2 separate regions of the Homo sapiens genome follow, and region 2 is linked to region 1. Evidence: promoter capture Hi-C in human tissues and cell types (Jung and others, 2019). All regions are on one chromosome and are shown on one strand. The core of a region is centred on a gene start or on the middle of the fragment in contact, and the rest is flanking DNA. Distances in the headings are between cores, read along the strand shown. Region 1 holds the start of LATS2 (large tumor suppressor kinase 2). Region 2 overlaps LATS2 (large tumor suppressor kinase 2).

Evidence for each region. Contacts are between HindIII fragments. The study calls those that stand out against the background at their distance.
Region 2: a fragment that was not itself captured here is called in contact with the fragment with the promoter of LATS2 in region 1 in 2 of the 25 tissues and cell types used here (IMR-90 fibroblasts and neural progenitor cells).

The regions. Positions count from the first base shown.
Region 1 is chr13:21,059,961-21,063,178 of GRCh38, reverse strand. It overlaps LATS2 (large tumor suppressor kinase 2), which reads left to right and starts at 1,593. Exons shown (of 8, transcript NM_014572.3): 1 at 1,593-1,833. RefSeq lists silencers at 1,379-2,178, 2,319-2,728 and an enhancer at 2,234-3,126. The HindIII fragment of the contact is 21,659 bases long and covers 1-3,218 here.
Region 2 is chr13:20,996,008-20,999,225 of GRCh38, reverse strand. The region is part of intron 2 of LATS2 (large tumor suppressor kinase 2); the gene reads left to right. Among named protein-coding and RNA genes, the nearest start is that of LINC00367, 48 kb to the right of the region's middle. RefSeq lists enhancers at 289-825, 1,607-2,146. The HindIII fragment of the contact is 5,541 bases long and covers 1-3,218 here.

The sequences.
Region 1 (3,218 bases), core at 344-2,843:
TGGGCTGCAGTAAGTTATGATTGTGCCACTGCACTCCAGCGTGGGCAATGGAGTGAGACTCTGTCTCTAAGAAAAAAAGGAAAAAATGTGGAAAAGTACATAGGTAATGCCAGTAGGGCTCAATTGCAGAATATTGGCTGGAGACTTATTTTGCTCCCAGTACTGTGCAAGATATCTGGGTAGCATACAGGATACTATCGAAAAATTAAATTGAATTCTAAGCTGCACGATGATGGTTTCTTTTTTTTTTTTTTGCACACTTCTGCTGGCAGGAAGGGATTACGGTTTGATTATCAGAGCCCAAAGAAGAGAGAAAACAGAGATCTGAGAAGATTCCCTGGAAGAGCTGAGGCCTTAAGAGATTGAAAGAGAGGGAGGGGAGGAGGATGAACCAGGGACTGAAGGCTGGGTGAGACTGTCAAAATAGTGCACAGATAATGACCTTTACTACTGTTTCCCATGAGAGTAAAATTTAAAAATTTCACAAGAGTTTGTCAATTAAAGAGGAAATCGAGTTGACTTTAAACACTATATTGACCCTCAGCATCACTTGCCACAGATATAGGTGGTAGGAAGTATGATGTTAGGAGAGCCAGAAGTAGACTGAGGATTTGGCTTCCAGTCTATTATTTCTACTGTGAATCTTTGCACCATCCCTGCTTCTGTCCCTGTACCAGATCCACAGTCCTCAAATGGATAGTGAAGCTGTTCAAAACCCACGACCTCACTTGCTGGTATATACGGTACTATACTATTCCCTACACCATAAAATACTTCTCAGAAAGAAAATATACATGGGGAGGGGAGGTTGATTAAATTAAATCAGGTTAAATTTGGGTGTGCATCAGACGTTCTTTTTTTTTTTTTTTTGAGACGGAGTTTTGCTCTTCTTGCCTAGGCTGGAGTGCAATGATGCGATCTCAGGTCACCGCAACCTCCGCCTCCCGGGTTCCAGTGATTCTCTTGCCTCAGCCTCCCGAAGAGCTGGGATTACAGGCATGAGCCACCACGCCTGGCTAATTTTGTATTTTTAATAGAGACGGGGGTTTCTCCAAGTTGGTCAGGCTGGTCTCGAACTCCCGACCTCAGGTGATCCACCCGCCTAGACCTCTCAAAGTGCTGGGATTACAGGCGTGAGCCACCGCTTCTGGCAAACGTCCTTCTTAATTGTTTGATTCCACTGTCCCAATAGCCGTCTGTCCTTTTCTGCCCCTATTTTTAGTGTCCAGCCACTAGTTGGTAACTTGGTGGCTCCTTCAGGCCTGCTAACTTTTTTTTTTCTTTCACCAAGACTGGTATGAGATACTTAAGAATAGTGGCTTTAACGACAGTTACCAACTTTTAATACAAATGCAGTCGAGAGGGCAAATACTCAAGTTTGGGGGCAGATAGCAGCCAGTCAAATAGGTCCGAGAGGCCCTGGCGAGCTACCGCAGGCCAGCAGGGAGGCCGTGGGCAGGTGGCGGTCGAGGCCGGAGGCAGGAAGCACGGCCGGGCGGGGCTGGGCGGAGCGGCCGCGGAGGAGCAGGGGCCGCAGGCGCCCCGCCCGGACTGGTATGCGGCCGAGAGTGACGCGGGAGGCGGGGTCACGTGACGCCCGTGGAATGCCAACAATGTAGCGAATGTCCCACTTGGGTCTGCGCTTTGGAACCGCGGCGTGAGCGCCCCGGGAAGATGGAGCAGTCGCCGTCCACGCCACCGCCGCCGCCCGGGGCTCCCCCGTCCCTGCGGGGCCAGCAGCAGCTCCAGCCACCAGTGCCCGGTCTCCCGGCGCGAGAGGCCCGGGAGCCGCCGGCCAGGACGCCCCCGAGGGTGTAGACCGCGCCCCTGGAGGTGAGGGGGCTGGGAGCTGGGGTCGGGGCGGCAGCTCGGAGGGTGGCGAGAGTTTCCGCGAAGCGGTCGAGCCCTGCGGCTCCGCGCACCTACTGTGGTGCCGAGGCTCCGGGAAGGGCGCCCGGCGGGGCGGCCGAGGAAGTTTGTCCGGACGGAGCCCTGCGCCCTGCCCCCACGGTCCGCGCCCGCCCGGAGCCGCCCCCGCCCGGCGGCTCGTAGTCCAGGCCGTACGGAGCCCGCGGAGCCGGTTCCAGAGGAGCCGGGGAAGTTGGAGGCCGGCGTCGGGCGGGGGCAGCGGGGCTGCGCCGCTTTGTTGTGCGGCGACCGGGGCGGCCGGGATCCCGGCGGGGCAGGGGCGGCGCGGGCCGGGGGCGGTGTCCTAGACCCGAAAGGCCGTAGCGCCGGGCGCGCCTCTGCTTCCGCTGTCTCCGGGGGATCGGCTTTTCACTAGACGCCCGGCCGGGCGCCCCTGACAGCCTCGGGACCCCCGGTCCGGCGGCGCAGCGGTCCCACGGATCCGGGGCCATCCTCCCGGCCGCGCCATCGTCCCACGGGCCAATCAGTCCTTCAGAGCCCGCCCTGTTGGCCCCCGCCGGCCGCCCCGTCGTCCCGCGAGCCGACGGACCCACGGCGGTGCCGCAGTCGAGGCCGCGCCGCCCCTCAGCCCCCGGTGGCTGCGCCGCCTCACCCACTGCCGCGCGGTTCCCACCCCGTTCCCCGCGGCCGCGCCGCCGGCTCACGGGCCAGTCAGCCCCTCAGAGGCCACCGGACCCTGGGGGCGCCGTTCCTCCCGGGCTGCGGGCGGCCAGGCCCTGCTCGGCGTCTCCCGGCCGGCTGCCGCGCCAACTCTGCGAGTTTGCTCACGGTCTTGGCGGGACGCGGCCCGAGGCGCAGGAGCGCTTTCGTGGCCACGCGAACGGCGGCCGTTGCATAACACGCCATTCCCGTGCCCTAGTTTAGCGACGTGTGGGGGGTTTGGCTTTCTCTTCTGATGTAAGCTCACCTGCGCTTAGCTCCCCAGCCGGACTCTGGAGATGGGGATTCTGACATCATTCACATCTTGCCATCACATCCTTCAGCCCAACTCCAGAACTTCTGGGGAGCTTTCCCTCGGGGATGGAGTGCGGCCTGGAGCAAACCCGTTTGTGAAATGCAAGTCTCCAGTGTCCCGAGGGTTGGGAACGGGGGGCGAGGCGAGGAATGGACCCTGAAGAAGGTAAAACCCACCCGACCAGGGCGCCAAGCAGCCGGTAACAGGGTCCCGAGTTAGCTCGGCGGCTGGCGGCTGTTCTGAGGCCTTTGGATGAGAAATGCTATTTTGCGAGGATCACCATGAAAGAACTTAACTTGCAGATTTTTTTGACAAAAATGTTGTTATTTTAAGA
Region 2 (3,218 bases), core at 518-3,017, 64 kb after region 1:
TTCTGCTGCATCCGCGCAAGGTGGCGACTCATTTTCTTCAAGCACACAGACATTTAAACTCCAAAGGCCACTACTTCCATTTGTCCTCCACCTGTTTTCCAGTCATAATTGGCTCGCACACGGCACGTGCTGCGCCTGCCCAAGGTCACCGGGGCCCCTGCCTCGCGTGGACAAGGTTGTGGACCAGGTCGCCAGAACCCCCGCCCTGCGTGCACAAGGTCGCGGGGATCCCTGTCCTGCGTGGACAAGGTCGTGGAAAAGGTCACCAGGGCCCTTGCGCCGTGTGCGCAAGGTCACCGGGACTCCTACCCTGCGTGGACAACGTCGCCAGGGCCCCCGCCCCGCGTGCACAAGGTCGTGGACAATGTCGCAGGGCCCCCACCCGGCGTGCACAATGTCGCTGCGGCCCCCGCCCCGTGTGGACAAGGTCACGGGGCTCTGCCCCACCAGCCCAAGGTTGTCGGGCCCCGCCCCGCCTCGCCCCGCATTGACAAGGCCTTGGGGCCCCACCTGCCCAAGATCGCCGGGAGCGCCGCGCTCAGGGGAGGGGCACGCAATGGTGGGGCGGTTAGAGGAGGCCTGGGCCCGGAGGGCCTCATTCTTCCAGGGGCCTTTCCGTGGGGGTGGGGTTGGAACACCCTTTGGAAATTCCAGCTCCTCGGCTCCTGTGTTCTCATAAAAAAATCTAGGCCTTTGGGTCAGAGATTCTTTTGAAGACCACCCTGCTGGCAATCCTCCAAGCAAGCACAGGATCCCGCCAGAGACAGTGCAGCCTCCTCTGCCAGCCAACTGGCCCCTCTCATCCTCTTCTCTCCCTCAGTCTTTGTTTTTTCTTAATTTAATTAATTAATTAATTTTTGTTTGTTTGTTTGAGACAGGGTCTCTTGCTCTGTCTCCCAGGCTGGAGTGCAGTGGCATGATCTCAGCTCACTGCAGCCTCCACCTCCCAGGTTCAAAGTGATTCCTGCCTCAGCCTCCCATGAAGCTGGAACTACAGGCACCCACCACCATGCCCAGCTAATTTTCTCACTTTTTACAAACATGCGGGTCTTGCCCAGGCTGGTCTTGAACTCCTGGCCTCAAGCGATCCTACCTTGGCCTCCCAAAGCCCTGGGATTACAGGCGTCAGCTACAACTTAAGTGGAAGTTACCTGAGAAAGCCTGAGAGACAGGCAGACACAGACAGAGGCCCACGCAGACACGATAGGGCCAGAGTGCTCCGTTTCTACTTTTTCAGCCAAACCTCATAGTTGGAATGTTAAAACTTTAGGATATGGTTTTGCTAAGGCTTGAAAAATGCTTCCTTACCAGGAAGGGCTGAGTGGGGGAGGATCTCCATAGGAAATTCCTTCCCTCATACATAATAATTGTCACTGCATTTAAATTACTTGCATTCACATGGCAATGCACGTGAAATACTTCTGCTGCTTAGACATTGCAAGCCCAGCTCCTGCCTTGCTAAGAGCTGAGCGGTAGATTGAAGGAGTGTCTTCCAGTTCCCACCCGTCCTCGTAAGCCCTGTGCTTAGTAGAAGGGGACCAAGCCAAGAGAGCAGAGGGTGTGTCAGGAGCCCATGCTAGGCTGTCTGGCAGCTGGTCAGCAGCTGGAGAGCTGGGTGAGGCCAGCTTCCCCGAGGGACAGCAGAGAAGATCATTAAATGGTGATGTACCTGCAACAGAGGCCTGGACCATCCCATGGGGAGGTTTGGAGCTGGGGTGTGGTCCTTGCAATTGAGAGGACCAGCCTCAAGATACTGGCAGGGCCTGATACTGGCAGGTGTCCCACCCCTCAGCCACCTCGCCGTTTTGTTAAAGTGCCTCTTTTGCAGTCCTTTCTATATCAGATAGCATATGGGCAAATCTCACATTTTCCAGGCTTCGTAGTGGTTAGGTCCAGTTTTAAGCGAACATCAATTTGTTGACAAAATGTAAGAGGAGAAATCTCTTGGGAAAGATACCTAAGGTACAGATGTTCAAAACTGCTTTATTCATGTGTAATTCACACACCTAAAGTGGAGTTTTACAAGAGCTGTCAGTAGCAGCAGTAAACCAGTGAAACCTCAGTTTGTCTTGCCCTTCTCAGTCCCTCCCCAATCTCTTAGTTTTAGCCATGAGGCAGAAAACCTCTTGAGGAGCTCTGCTTTAATGGAGTGGGAAGAATTCCTTCTATCTGGTCCAGGGCCACCACCCCAAGCTGAGACTAGCCCACTGCAGTGCATGTCACCGCTCTCCAGAAGAGACGAGGCTGCCAGGCCCCTCGGGGTGTCTGTCCTTTGTGCCATAGTATTTAGCCCTACTAGCTTCTATTCTACAGCCAATCTGACAAAATAATTTTTCATTTAATATTTATGAATCTGCAAGAATAGCCCAGAGGGTAGCAGATAAGGGCTCCAGGTAAGAGCCCGTCAGACTCTTATTTTGTAACCATTGTGGCTCCCCAAACTGTGAGGCATAGAGTTTATGCCATGTCAGGTTTTGCTGAATTTGATATGGAGTGTGAATAATAGTATCAGTTCTGCCTTCAAAGTATCCAGAATCTTCTATCAGCCCAGGCACGGTGGCTCACACCTATAATCCCAGCACCTTGGGAAGCTGAGGCAGGTGGATCACCTGAGGTCAGGAGTTCGAGACCAGCCTGGCCAACATGGCAAAACGCCACCTCTACTAAAAATACAAAAATTAGCCAGGTATGGTGGTGGTTCATGCATGTAATCCCAGCTATTCGGGAAGCTGAGGCAGGAGAATTGTTTGAATCTGGGAGATGAAATTTCAGTGAGCCAATATTACGCCACTGTACTCCACCCTGGGGGACAGAACGAGCCTCTGTCTCAAAAAAAAAAAAAAAAAAATCTTCTACCACTCTAATGTAGGTAGAAAAAAAATGCTTCTGGACTGGATGTGAGATGTGAATGAAATCTCAAAGTCAAGATGCTTCCAAGGTTGGGAGCCCTGAGAGAACTGGTAAGTTAGAGGCAGGAGATTGGGTTTTGCACATGTTGAGTCATCTTACTCTTGCAGCAGGTGGCATGGAGTGGTCACTGATGAAGGAAGTGTTGAACACTGCAGGTATCTTGTGCCAAATCTGGTGCTCATATGATGGCTTCAACTCCAGCATTGAGATCTGTCTAGAAGAGAAGGCTTAATTTATGGGCGTGGTAACCAACTTCAATGGATTAGCATCCTTTTTCTATGAGACATTAGCCCAATCCTAAATTAAGC